2 separate regions of the Homo sapiens genome follow, and region 2 is linked to region 1. Evidence: promoter capture Hi-C in 16 types of primary human blood cells and fetal thymus (Javierre and others, 2016). All regions are on one chromosome and are shown on one strand. The core of a region is centred on a gene start or on the middle of the fragment in contact, and the rest is flanking DNA. Distances in the headings are between cores, read along the strand shown.

Evidence for each region. Contacts are between HindIII fragments. The CHiCAGO score rates a contact against its expected background, and 5 or more counts as called.
Region 2: a fragment that was not itself captured here is called in contact with the fragment with the promoter of POU3F1 in region 1 in 1 of 17 cell types (endothelial precursors); the score reaches 5.6 in endothelial precursors.

Annotation. Positions count from the first base shown.
Region 1 is chr1:38,042,642-38,049,257 of GRCh38, reverse strand. POU3F1 (POU class 3 homeobox 1) reads left to right here and starts at 2,465. Exons shown (of 1, transcript NM_002699.4): 1 at 2,465-5,429. The coding sequence starts at 2,515. The coding sequence ends at 3,870. It overlaps MIR3659HG (MIR3659 host gene), which reads right to left and starts at 2,124. Exons shown (of 5, transcript NR_168386.1): 1 at 1,644-2,124. RefSeq lists enhancers at 1,161-1,661, 1,662-2,162 and a silencer at 2,075-2,404. The HindIII fragment of the contact is 4,132 bases long and covers 448-4,579 here.
Region 2 is chr1:38,730,402-38,737,017 of GRCh38, reverse strand. No RefSeq gene overlaps it. Among named protein-coding and RNA genes, the nearest start is that of RRAGC, 130 kb to the left of the region's middle. The HindIII fragment of the contact is 4,123 bases long and covers 1,169-5,291 here.

The sequences.
Region 1 (6,616 bases), core at 1,216-3,715:
TTGGTCATTGTTCTTCCAGCCTCAGTGGCAATTCCAAAGGCTGGAAATCAAAACACCTGCCCGCTGTCCAGACTTCCTTCAACAGGAACTGAGACAGATTCACAGAATCACAGACCATGAGAGTGAGAAGTGCCAGAGAGGTCGACTGGTCCAAACCTCTGCAATCCCACGCTACAGGTGGAGAAACTGAGATTTAGTTAGAGAGGGGGAATGCCTTGCCTGTCACTGAACAGCAACAATGGAAACGACCAAAGTAAACACCTATCTGAGAGCTTTACACCCCCGTTGTCTCACATAACTATCTGACCTACCTTAGTGAGACAGGTGGGCTGCCTATAGTACTGTTATTCCCAACATACAGGAAGGAAAACCAAGAGCTAGGAAGGCTAGACCAGAGTTACTCTTGCCCAGGGAGATGATGGCAGCTCCAGGTTGAAAGCCCAAGCTTCAATATCACACAGGCCTGGTTAGGGCTGGCACGAGCATGGACTTCACTGCGGAATTCCCAGTCTTCCTCCTACCTCCCAGGCCTGGGAAAGGTGAAAGACCTGGGCTGCCTCAAGGTGACCATTCCCTGGGCCAGAGTCCAGGAAAGCCCAGTATCTCTAGCTCGGTTCAGACACAGAGCTCCATCGCAGCTCTTACAGCTAGGGTGGGACCACGGAGCCTGCTCAGGACAGTGGCCAATGGCAGGATAAGGGCCCTGCTCTGTCCCACTCCTTCCCTGGCTGGTCCTAGGGCATTCAGGGCCCACATGATCAAAGTCTGTGCCCAGGGTGACCCCTGTCACTGTCAACTCTGTCCCAGCCGCCCTGGATCGTTCCAATGGCAGCTGCCACCTGAGCCCCCAGCAACTTTTTTCAATCTAAGGATTTATTCCACAGACCTGATTTGCCCAGTGGGGCCCTAGGTGGGCCCCCAGCTCAGTTCTGTGATCTGGGACCCCAGGGCCCTGTAAGCTATAAATCCACTTGAGGCTAGATCCAGGAGAGAAAAGAGGGAGGACTGGCAGCTGAAGACTCCCTGGGACCCAAGCCTCGGTGTGGGGAAGAGGAGAAAACACAGCTCAGTACCCTCAGCCTGGGGCCCAAGGTCGGGTAAGAAGGCACAAAGGAACTGCAGTGAGGTCCGACTCCACTCAAGATCCTTCAGGGAGTCCTCAAGGGCTGGGGCGTGAGGAGGTAGCTAAATTCCACTGCCCACCTTTCCAACAAGGCCTCCTCAATCTCAATTCCCTTTTCAGCAGCTCCAGGCAAGTCCGGGCAAACTCTAGCCCAGGGCTCTTAGCGAGGCTGGACAGCTCCCGGCCTGCACGCCGGATTTCTGGAGAGCCCGAGCCCCTTCCCTGAGCCCATCCTTCTCCTCTCCCGGGGCGTGATCCCACCACGACCACAGCCGATGAGCCGTTCAAGCTGGGAGAAGGAGCGAGAAGGCTGCAGCGGCGCAGGTCAGATACCCCTGGGCCCAACGTCCACCCCCAACTAGCGCCCTTGCCAGCAGCGTTTTCCCCGGAGCCACAGTCTCCACCTCGAGATCTTCTCCTTCTGGAACCCCGGAGCGCGGCCGGGTACCAGGGGCTCGCGTAGGACTGTAGAACCGCTGCCGCCCGCCGTCCCAGCCCCAGCTGCCCGCGCGGTACTCACCTGGGCCTCAGTGCCCGGGAGAAGGTGTGCCCGCGCGAGGCGTGAAGCCAGAGTCCGTCCGACTCCGCCCGCACCGGACGCGCTCTCAGGGCAGAGGAGGTCGGCGGAGTTGTGACGCTGGGACTAGAGGAAGGAGAAGGAAAGCCGAGACGGGCCGGGCAGACGCGCCGAGGAGCGCCCAGTGCACGCTGGCAGCCGCGGGAGGCGAGGCGGGCGCGGTGAGCAGTCGCGCCGGAACCGAGCCGCGAATCCGCGCCGCCTCGCGCTCGCAGCCGCCAGGACCCGCGGGAATCCTGGTCCGCCGGCAGCGGTACTGAGGAGGGAGGGGCGCGGGGCTGAGCCGCTTCTCGGAGCCCGAGCGCCTCCCGGAGCCGGCAATCCCTGCTGCCCGGGCGGGATGCGGGCGGGAATTCAGCTCGCGTGGAATGTGGGACCGGCCGGGCTCGGAGTCTCCAGCGCTGGGGGAAAGCGGGGCCCACACAGCCAGGACGAGAGGGGGTGCGGTCCCAGGGCCACCCCCGCGCCACTCCCCACGTGGCGGCCGCGCCCCCGGGGCGTGAGTGTGTACGCGGACGGTAGGGGGGCCGTGAATGAAGCCCCAGCGGCCAATCAGCACGGCCGGCGCGCGGGACCCCGGGAGCGACGCCCAATGGAGAGCTCTGGGCGGCCGGGCAGGGTGGCGGGCGGGCGCGCGGGGCGGGGGCCGGGCAGGGGAGGCGGGAGGCAGCTCCGCGGGCAGCCAATGGGCGGCGGGCGGGGTGGGGCTCCGGAGCGCCGAGCGGGTCGGGGCTTTAAGCCGGCGGAGCGAGGCGGCGGGGCCCGCAGACGGAGCGGAGCGGCGGCGGCGGCGCGGCGCAGGGCGCGGGGCGGCATGGCCACCACCGCGCAGTACCTGCCGCGGGGCCCCGGTGGCGGAGCCGGGGGCACCGGGCCGCTTATGCACCCGGACGCCGCGGCGGCGGCGGCGGCGGCGGCGGCCGCGGAGCGATTGCATGCAGGGGCCGCGTACCGCGAAGTGCAGAAGCTGATGCACCACGAGTGGCTGGGCGCGGGCGCGGGCCACCCCGTGGGCCTAGCGCACCCCCAGTGGCTACCCACGGGAGGAGGCGGCGGCGGCGATTGGGCCGGCGGCCCGCACCTAGAACACGGCAAGGCAGGCGGCGGCGGCACCGGCCGAGCCGACGACGGCGGCGGCGGCGGAGGTTTCCACGCGCGCCTGGTGCACCAGGGGGCGGCCCACGCGGGCGCGGCATGGGCGCAGGGCAGCACAGCGCACCACTTGGGCCCGGCCATGTCGCCCTCGCCCGGGGCCAGCGGGGGCCACCAGCCCCAGCCGCTCGGGCTGTACGCGCAGGCGGCCTACCCGGGGGGCGGCGGCGGCGGCCTGGCCGGGATGCTGGCGGCGGGCGGTGGCGGCGCGGGGCCGGGCCTGCACCACGCGCTGCACGAGGATGGCCACGAGGCGCAGCTGGAGCCGTCGCCGCCGCCGCATCTGGGCGCCCACGGACACGCACACGGACATGCACACGCGGGCGGCCTGCACGCGGCGGCGGCGCACCTGCACCCGGGCGCGGGCGGCGGCGGCTCATCGGTGGGCGAGCACTCGGACGAGGATGCGCCCAGCTCGGACGACCTGGAGCAGTTCGCCAAGCAGTTCAAGCAGCGGCGCATCAAGCTGGGCTTTACGCAGGCCGACGTGGGGCTGGCGCTGGGCACGCTCTACGGTAACGTGTTCTCGCAGACCACCATCTGCCGCTTCGAGGCCCTGCAGCTGAGCTTCAAGAACATGTGCAAGCTCAAGCCGCTGCTCAACAAGTGGCTGGAGGAGACCGACTCGTCCAGCGGCAGCCCCACCAACCTGGACAAGATCGCGGCGCAGGGCCGCAAGCGCAAGAAGCGCACGTCCATCGAGGTGGGGGTCAAAGGCGCGCTCGAGAGCCACTTTCTCAAGTGCCCCAAGCCCTCGGCGCACGAGATCACCGGCTTGGCAGACAGCCTGCAGCTGGAGAAGGAGGTGGTGCGCGTCTGGTTCTGCAACCGGCGGCAGAAGGAGAAGCGCATGACCCCTGCGGCCGGCGCGGGCCACCCGCCCATGGACGATGTATACGCGCCTGGGGAGCTAGGGCCTGGCGGGGGCGGCGCATCGCCACCCTCCGCGCCCCCACCGCCCCCGCCGGCGGCGCTGCACCACCACCACCACCACACACTGCCCGGCTCAGTGCAGTGACCCCGCGGGCCGGGCCCCCGCCGGCGCGCTGCAGGGCGCGGGCGCGCAGCCCGCCCGCGCGGCCTGGACTCTTTTTGTTCGGTTGCTTTGGATTTTACAAAAAAAAAAAAAAGCCCAGAAACTTTCGAACAAAACCAAACACCCGGACGACCCTCTCCGGTGAGCGGCGAAGACAGCCCGGTAGGCTGCGTCGCCCGAGCCCCGGGAGAGAGGAGCGAAGATCCGGAACTCGCCAACTCACCCCGGGCATCCTGCCCGCCGCCTGCTCTCTGCCCCCATCCCCTCGACGACCCCCGCCCCTGCCCCCCCGGGCTGTTCGGGGCCGGATCCCGGCAGCGGCCTCCCCAAAGCGACAGGTAACGCAGTGCGGGGTTAGGGATTCCCCGGGAGAGAGGACGAAGCGAGGAGAGTTCTCCATCCCCTCTCCCCGCGTGGACTCCTGAGCCTGCGGGTCCAGGGTGGGGGGCTGTCACTTTATTCGCTACACGCCTCTTCTCTCCTATAAGGATGCGCCCCACCCCGCTTTCCCCTTTCTCCGGGCTTGGTTTTTTACGGTTTTTATTTATTCGTGGAGCCTCTCGGCTCCTGGGGTCCTTCTAACTCCGCCCGCGCCCTTAATTTAAATCGCAGTATACTGTATTTATCGGGGCCCCGGAGGGGAGGTCGCGAGAGCCGCGTCTGTGTATAAAAGCAGGAAATAGCCAAAGCTTTAATCTAGCCTAATTTATTTTTCCCCTTATATTTCCCTACCCTACCCTCCCCCCAAAAAAAAGCAAAAAAAAAAAAAAAAAACTAACAAAAAAAATTCGAGTGTTCATTTTTCGTTTCGTTTCATCCGAGCCCCGGCTTGGTTCCCGGCCACGCCGGAGGGGTCTGCGCTCCCACACACCCAGACGGGAAGGGGCTTCTGCCCTGCTGCAGACCGACCGCCGCATAGCGCGGCCCCTGCTCCCCGCGGGGCCCTGCCCTCCTGGCCACACCAAACGAAACTTGGAAAAGTTAGAGAGATTGTTTTTTAACCAGCTGTAGAAATAAGCCGTTCCCTGAGAACCCTCCGCCTGATTCCCTGCAGCTTCCCTCTGCTCCCTTTCCAGCCCGCCGGGATGCGGGATGCCAGGGGAGGCCGGGAGAGAAATTCCCCAAGTTTGGGGTGAGGTGGGAACCATGTAAATATGTGAGATATGTACACACTGGCGGGGAGAAGAAACATTTTGTGCTTGGTTTTTATTTTTGGTTTTCCGGGTTACCCTTCCTTCCTACCCTAAAGGATTTTGTACACTGACTAATCCGAAAAAGATATTTTAATATGATTTCCGAATTTCTGACCCATCTCTATTTATTTTCTGGATGTGTTTGGAGCTTCCCCCTTCTCCGTTTCTTCTTCTGTTTGTTAAGGTTTGAATTTAAATTTTGTTATTTTATTTTTATTATTTTTTGAAACAATGTTTCGGTGCATTCTCTTTGTATCTTTATTGAAAAAAAAATAATGTAGACTGGGAAGTTCCCTTTATATTTATGTTATAGTAAATATTTTATTACTCACATAAACATGTACCCCAGGGCTGTGTCCTGTCCTTTTTACTGCTAGGGCTGGGTGGGTTTTTGGGGTGAAGCGATGGGATCCCCTGCTTCACCTCCCTGAAGTTCTGATCTCACCAGGAGAGATCTTGGAGGAAGATGACCCTGCAGACCTTCCAGGTGGATATCAGGACATGGGCAACAGTTGGGCCCCTGCCTCAGATGCATCAGTTTAGGGAAGATGAAGCTGCCTCGTGTCCCCCTGTCGTAGACAGACTCTCCTAGACCAAACCAGGGCCCGGGACAGTGAGCCAAAGACACCACATGGAATTCGGATCAGCCATTGTTCATGCACAACTCGACTGCTCTTCTCCACCAAGAAAGAAGCCCACCTCGGCCTGGGTCACCAGCCTAGAATCTATAATCCCCCACCTGACACCTCAACCCCCAACTTTCATTTCACCTTGCACTCTATATGAGAGGTCTGAGCCAACTTTACCATTCCCAGTCCTAGGGCACCTGGAAGCCTGGTGAGGCCCCACCATCCTACTCCAGCAGGCTCTCCACCCAAACTCAAATGGTGCCCAAGCCCCCCTGGATGCACTGGGAGTTCTAACAGCTTAGACAGACGTGGCTTTCATGGTCCTACGTGAGCTGGGTCAGCCTAGGGAGGGAGCCCTGCCAATTTGCTTGGGCAAAGCCGGTCTTATGTCTCTGCAAACAAACCGCTGCCCCAGCTTCTGTTGGGGAGAAGTGGAGGCACGGGTAACTGTGCCATCAGAAAGACCTGATATCTTCTTTCCAAGGTTGGGTACCCAAGACCCTCATCACCGCCACCACTGCAGGGAGTGATAGGAAGGAGAGCACAGACCTCAGATGCTGTCTTCTGGAGTGAGTCAGGGTATCTGGGGGCAGATCTGGTTCCCGACGCAGAGCTCCAGACTACCTGGGTTCCAGTCAAGACCTTATTTTCTCCTTTAAAACAACCCTTCTTAAAAATACTGATAAAAGAGCTCTTCCTGCTTCCTCCGTAGACGCAGTTCTTTTCCCCTCTCAGGAGAAGCCACATGCGGTTTCTCTCACTCTTTGTGAAGCCAAAGCTTGAAGGCACAATCTCTTAGCTGGGGAGAAAGCTGACCCTAGTGAGGGGGCGTGTGGGGCCCCTCCTGCCAGGGAAGCGGCCCAAGTCCAGGCCTGTGAGAGGCCTGGGCTCTAGCTGACGGTGTCA
Region 2 (6,616 bases), core at 1,981-4,480, 690 kb before region 1:
GCCACTGGTGAATGTGCAGGTGAAATTGTTGTTTGCTGTGAGAGTTGAAAGGCCAGGCTTGCCCTGTGTGGGAGACCATCAGGCTATACAACACACTCCGGTTACTTTATGATTTCTGTATAGAACCTTTTCTTGAAATGAAACAAATGTTTGAATCAAACTCTGTTTTCAAGATAATAATAGAGGCCCCTAGGTAAAACGTAATATCTCTATTTATTAAAAATTATGTATTTCCAGTCAGCTCTTTTTTTAAAAAAATCATAAATAGGTAGAAAACATTTGCTTATTAGTTTGTTCATGCGCTTGTTCATTCATTCACCATGTTACTGAGAACAGAGCTAGGAACACCCTTAATTCACTTGCATCATTTCCTAAGGTCAGAAGCTTCTGGTATTTGTTCAGGCTCAGTCTCAGCTCTTTGAAGCTTTTGGACTCTGGTCTTTGCCAAGGGGTTCCAGTGTTTTTGGTCCATTGAAGGGGATTTATCCTCTCTTCTGCTAGTGCTTGCCTATGAGGGGCAGCTCAGTTAGGTTAGGTTATCTTCACAGAAGCCCTGGCAGAGGATCCCTGCCACACCTACAATGGGGAAGGTCTACCAGTCTCTCCTCTCACTTTGGGTCTACATATTAGGTTCTTTCTAAAGAATAGGAGACCCCTTCTATTTCCATTTCAGTCTGCTCCAGTCTAGCTCATTAAACAGGGATGTATGGCTGACATTTTACCCTGAGTCCAGGCCTGTGTTGGGGGTTGAGGGGACTGTAAAAGAAGTTTAGCACCTCTAAGCATTTTATGGAGGCAAGATAAACATACAAGCAGCAAACTTCTATGAAACCCTCAAAGGACACTGTGTGGCCCCCCATCCTGGCAGCTGTCCCCACTTTGGTTGGTGGTAGTGATTCAATCATTCATTAGTTTATTTTCTCAACAAACTTGCTGTGTGTTGGGTGGGCACTGCATAACAGCCGTGGTATCACAGGAATGAGGAAGACTGAGTCAGAAGCTCACAGTCTTGCATGGGCGATAAGACGTACATAAATAACTAGGTCATCAAATGACAAAATTGTATTCCCTGAATTTCTGCTGATCCTACTTCCTTACTAACTTTTAAAATCTTTTCCTCCCCATCCTCACTACCATTGCTTTTTTCTCTTGGATGATTACATAAGCTTTCGAGCTCATCTTCCTGCCTCCAGTCCAGCTCCCACATTCCCATCAGATGGATTAGTCTACAATCTAGACACGTCATTCCTAGCTCTGAGCCCTCCAGTCTCTATGCAAGATGAGGTGACCTCCACCTCTACTTCCTGGCCAGCTCTCTTGCCGCAAGCTGCCTCACCATTTCTGTGGTATTTGCACTATGTGCCTTTGGGCCCTCTGTCATTCCCTCTGCCAGGGATGCTCTCCCAGCTTGTTCTCCTAAAAGACTCTGTTTGTCCTTTGAGACTCAACTCATGTACCAAATCATCTGGCAAAACTTCCTTGGACTCCTCCACTCCATTCATTTTATTCACTCTTTGATGAGTATTCAGTATGTGTCAGGCATGGTGCCAGGAAGATGAAGGGAAGTGATATGGTTTGAATCTATGTCCCTGCCCAAAACTCATATTGAACTGTAATCCCCAGTATTGGAGTTGGGGCCTGGTGGGAGGTGATTGGATCATGGGGGTAGTTTTTCATGAATGGTTTGGCACCATTCCCCTTGGTACTGTCCTTGTGATAGTAAGTTCTTGTGAGATCTGGTCATTTAAAAATGTGTAGCACCTCCCTGCTCTCTTTCTTATTCCTTCTTTCACCATGTAATGTGCCTACGTGCCTCCTCTCCCTTCACCTTATGCAATGATCATAAGTTTCCTGAGGCCTCCCCAGAAGCCGAGAAGATGCCAGCATCATGCTTCCTGTACAGCCTGCAGAACTATGAGCCAATTAAACCTCTTTTCTTTATAAATTACCCAGTCCCAGATATTTCTTTATAGCAATGCAAAAATGGACTAGGACAGGAAGTAAAACCAATATGGTACCTGACCTTGTTTGTAGAGCTTCAAACTGAGTGATGGAGAGAGATGCTCATTAAACAAGTTTAAAATAAATGTAGGATTACAAACTGTCATAAGCAGGATGAAGAAGAATACAGGGTGCTCTCAGAGAGTATAGCTGTGGCTCCTCTCCCAGAGCATTGTGAAGCAGCTGCAGGTTATTCGTTTCTACTGGGTACTGGCCTCTTGCCCTATGGAGAAGGTCTGACCAAAGGTACAATGGGAATCATTTGGCTTGACCCCGGCTCTGTGTGTTAGGCTAGTTCAGTTGGCTCTGGTTGTGATAATGTAGTCCTTTATTAGATACTTTCTGGAAGATTCTGCCTACCTCATGGTAATCTTCCTGAATTTCCCTCCTCATCCTTGTGCACCAACCCTTATAGTCATGTCTGCATTGTGTTACAGTCCACTTGGTCATGGTTGAAGGTATAGTATGGTATACCTGATCCAAATTTGACAATTCAGTTTCTTTCTCCTCAAAATTTGAGACTCAAAAATTCTAGGACTGGCTGGGATGGTCTGTAGAAAAGAATAGATGGGGACTTGGGAGTAGGGGGTGGCCATTTCTTTCTGTTGTGAACTGAGAAGCAAATGGATGAAAGGAACAGAAAAGAGACCTGCAGCAAGTTCTTTCTTGAGGTCTGGTGCCATTTGTGCCCTTGAGTTCCAAGAAACAGTCTTATATCCTTTTAATGAATTCCCCTTTGCTGCCTCAGCTTAGCTTACGTTGGTTTCTATTTCTTGCAGCTTAAGAATTCTAGCCATACAGATCCCAAACAGCCAATCATCCATGTGAGCAGGTTGAAGAAAAATCCTTCACCCCCGCAAAGGCTTGGATGGAGCTGCTCAAGGCACATCAATCAATGCAGTCAGAGAGACAAGACTGGCAGCTTCTTGGCTGACCTTGAAATGTTTCAGGGGTAGTTTTGGCATCTTGTGTGCCCCAAGTCTACTCCAAAGTGAAATTGCCCAACTGGTTGTTAACAGGCTATTAGTAATTGGTCTGTCTAGTTCTAATGATTGGTTGGTACCTGTGTGTACATGTCCCGCGTTTACTTAGGTGGAACCTCTGGTGTTTTGGGAGTAGTGATTAACCCTGCAGAGTGTATGGTCTTGTTCTAATCTTTGCAGGAGTATTGATGTTAAGTAGACGCATTGTTTGCCAGGTCAAATTTGTCTTTTTCTGTTGCATTTCTTTTTAAAAGCCAAGTTTTTTTTTCTCCTATATCACAAAGAGAATTTTATTTTTCTGATAGGATTTTTTACAGACCTTTAGGATTAAAATTAGCTGCCTTTCACTTCTGGGCTTTACTCTCTTCTTGGGTTAATTTTAGCTAATCAGTGGCAAAATAAGTTGCCTTAAAATCACACTTCCTTCCACAGTCTTAGAAAAATAAATGAAAAAAAGAGACCCTACTTAAGTGGCCTTGTTATTTCTCCTACTTGATTTGCACAGCTTTAGCCTTCCTTCTTTTGTCCATACAAACTGTAACGCAAAGGTCACAAAAATTCCTTGACTTACTGAAATGTGGCTGATAGCATCGTTGAAGCAAACATCGGTCTAACCCACATGTTTCATAGTTCGGAGATTTTCAACTAATAAGAGGAATCAAACACTGTATTTGGGGAAAGATTAAGGTCACTGGCCCTCATTTGAGTTGATTGGTCTCTTGAAATGAGATGTTAATTGTGAAATTGATAGGCAGATTTCCATAAGATTTTACCCCCAATAGTTTGTGTTTATAATTAAAATAATAAAAATGGAAACTGTCCAGTTCAATCAGCATAATCTCCCATCTATTCTCAAGCAACACAACTGGCGTGAGATGCATCTGTGTGTGTGAGTCACATATTCCTTTTACTTTACTTCTGGAGGGAAGGGGAAAAATAAATTGCCTAGAGTCTACATATGTTGACATCTCCACAGAAATTAGAGAACAACCACTACAATGTTGGAATAAAAATGAAAAGAGATAGAGCCACTTTTCTATAAATAATAGAAGATTTTGGATGTTTGCAATTAAGGTTATCACTTGATTCATTCATGCAAGCAATATTTACTGAGTACCTACTTTGTGCTGGCACCGTTGTACTGTAGGTACTAGGGATACGAGGTGAAGATGAGAGTTGGGTTCCAAATCTTACAGAACTTGCATTCTGATAGAAAAGGGTTTTAAGCAGGGGAGTGGTGTGATCTGATGCTGTTTCCAATGGCTGATTACTCTGGCTGCCTTGTGGAACAGGTGCTGGAAGGGGCATGAATAGTTGCAGGAAGACTAATTAGGACACTTGCAGGGGTCCAGGTGAGAGACGATAGTGATTTAGAACTGCTGGTGACAGTGGTGAAGGCAAGAAGTGGTGGATTTAGCACTTCTATTGGAGGTTGAGTGGAAAGAACTTACTGATAGATAAGATGTGGGGGACGAGGAATACAGAGGATTAGATTCCTCCCTCCCCCAGCTGAATTGATGGTGGTACCATGCTGCAGGTGGGAAGACTTGGGGAGGAATTAGGAGTTCCATCTTGAGTACCTTGTCTGTGAGATGCATCCAAATTGATTGACAGGTTGCTAGTTACCTGATTTCCAGAGGGGACTATGGAGCTCAGTACCTGACTAAAGGACGCAGAGTCGTCCTATTTGTGGGGAGCACTAGCAAAATGATTTGCATGCATGACAATATAGAATGGGGAAAAATCTTGGCCAGCTGGTAAATTTGGCAGCACCTGAAAAAAGGAATTCAATAAAGATGAATGAAAGTTTTTAAAACCAAAGATAGAATAGGGATGGGAAGGTGGGGAGGAACATGGGGTTTAGCAGAAGTACTTTGCATTATAAAAGGAGAGGTTTAGGGACAAGTAATATGAAGAGGATGACAAAATGTGTGTGTGTCCTTGAACTGCCTCCATAATAGAGAGAGTCCTGACTTGGGGGTCAGTCAGATCTGGGTTCTAAGTCAGACACCATCGCTTACAAGCTGTATGTCTTCTGGCCAGTTACTGAACCTCTGCACACAAACTCAAAGATTTTTTCTCCCCAAAACATTGAAGTCATTAAGTAAAAACTAATTTGTTTCCCATCTTTTGTTGAGCAAAGATATATCAAGCTGCAGCTTGAAATGTCAGGTCAGCTTGAGAGAGTGTGACCACATGAATTGAAATAATTGCAGCCAAAAGCAAAGGCATTTTTCTTGAGGCACAGGTCTTATCTTGCATGAATGGGTCATTTCAGCTGTGATTTTTAAAACCTTAAGACAAGCTTCTGTACCCTTGAGGCTGTCTTTTCAGTTCCCAGGTTAGGGGCCAATGTGCCATTTCCCAAGAGCATCCCAGGTGAAAATATCTGGGACACTCACTAACCTTGACCACTTCTGTAATTGAGAGGGGATCCAGGGAAACAGAGGTGCACTCTTTCTAAGAATTTAAAGACCTCTACATTTTAGGAAGAGGTATGCAATACTTTCCATGTCTACATTTTAGGAATGGCTGTAGGAAAGGGTATTGGTCATCCCTTCATCTCCATCCATTTTTACATCTCCCTAGGAATGGGAAGAAACTTTCCATTGTGGGAACTAGCTTGGATTATTTCTATGTGATGTTACAGCATCTCGACTTAATTCCAAATCTAGTTGTTTGGTCCACGTAATGCCAAATAATGCTTGATACTTTTGTCCCTGCTTGATTTTACGGGTTGATGGCTAGTACACGGACACAGTCCATGATGAATCAGCCATGTTTCCCAATATGTTTACTACAGGCCAGTGCTTCTCAAATTTCAATGTGAACCACCTGCACATCTTCTTAAAGTGCAGGCTCTGATTCAGCAGGTCTGGGTGGGGCCTGAGAGTCTGCATTTCTGACTAACTGCCAGGCAATGCTGCATCCTGCTTGTCTGGGAATCACACTTTTAGTAGTGAAGTTGCAGAAGCCTAATCTGTTAGTAGAACACAGGTTGCTCAAGAAAAAAGAAGGAGGAAAGGGTCCATGGATAAAGGTCAGGAGTAAATGGCATACCTTACTGGCATCTTAAAGGCCCTGAGAAGTCCTGCAGGTACAAAGAAACTGTTTACTTGTTTTACTTAGGGTCAAATTCATTTGATGATGAAACATTTTTGTTGTTGTTCCCAAGGAAAACCTATTAATGTTCAGTGGAATTAGTTTTCTGTGTATCAGAATTTGAAAACAATTTAGCACGAGAGACACAGATTGTCCTACAACTATGTTGATTGTAAATGGGCCAGTATTCGACTAAGGCAGCCACCTGGGAAAGTGCCAGTGTGTGATGAGTAAAAGCTTGGGATCTGAAGCTGAGTCAAAACCTGAGGTTGAGTCTTGGCTCTCCATTTGGGGTCAGTCAACTTCTCTGAGCCTTGATTTTCTACTGTATAAAATGGGCATAATAAAAGACCCTGTACATGGACACTGTTACTATAGTTGCCTGGATTAGCAAAACAGATGATATTGAGCATCTTGGCTAGAGTGAAAAGTACTCAGGCCAGAAGAAACCCAGGAGAATAGTAATATATGAAGAACAGAAGTTTGAGCAGGAATGATCCCTGGAGACTGATGCAGAACCCTTAATTATA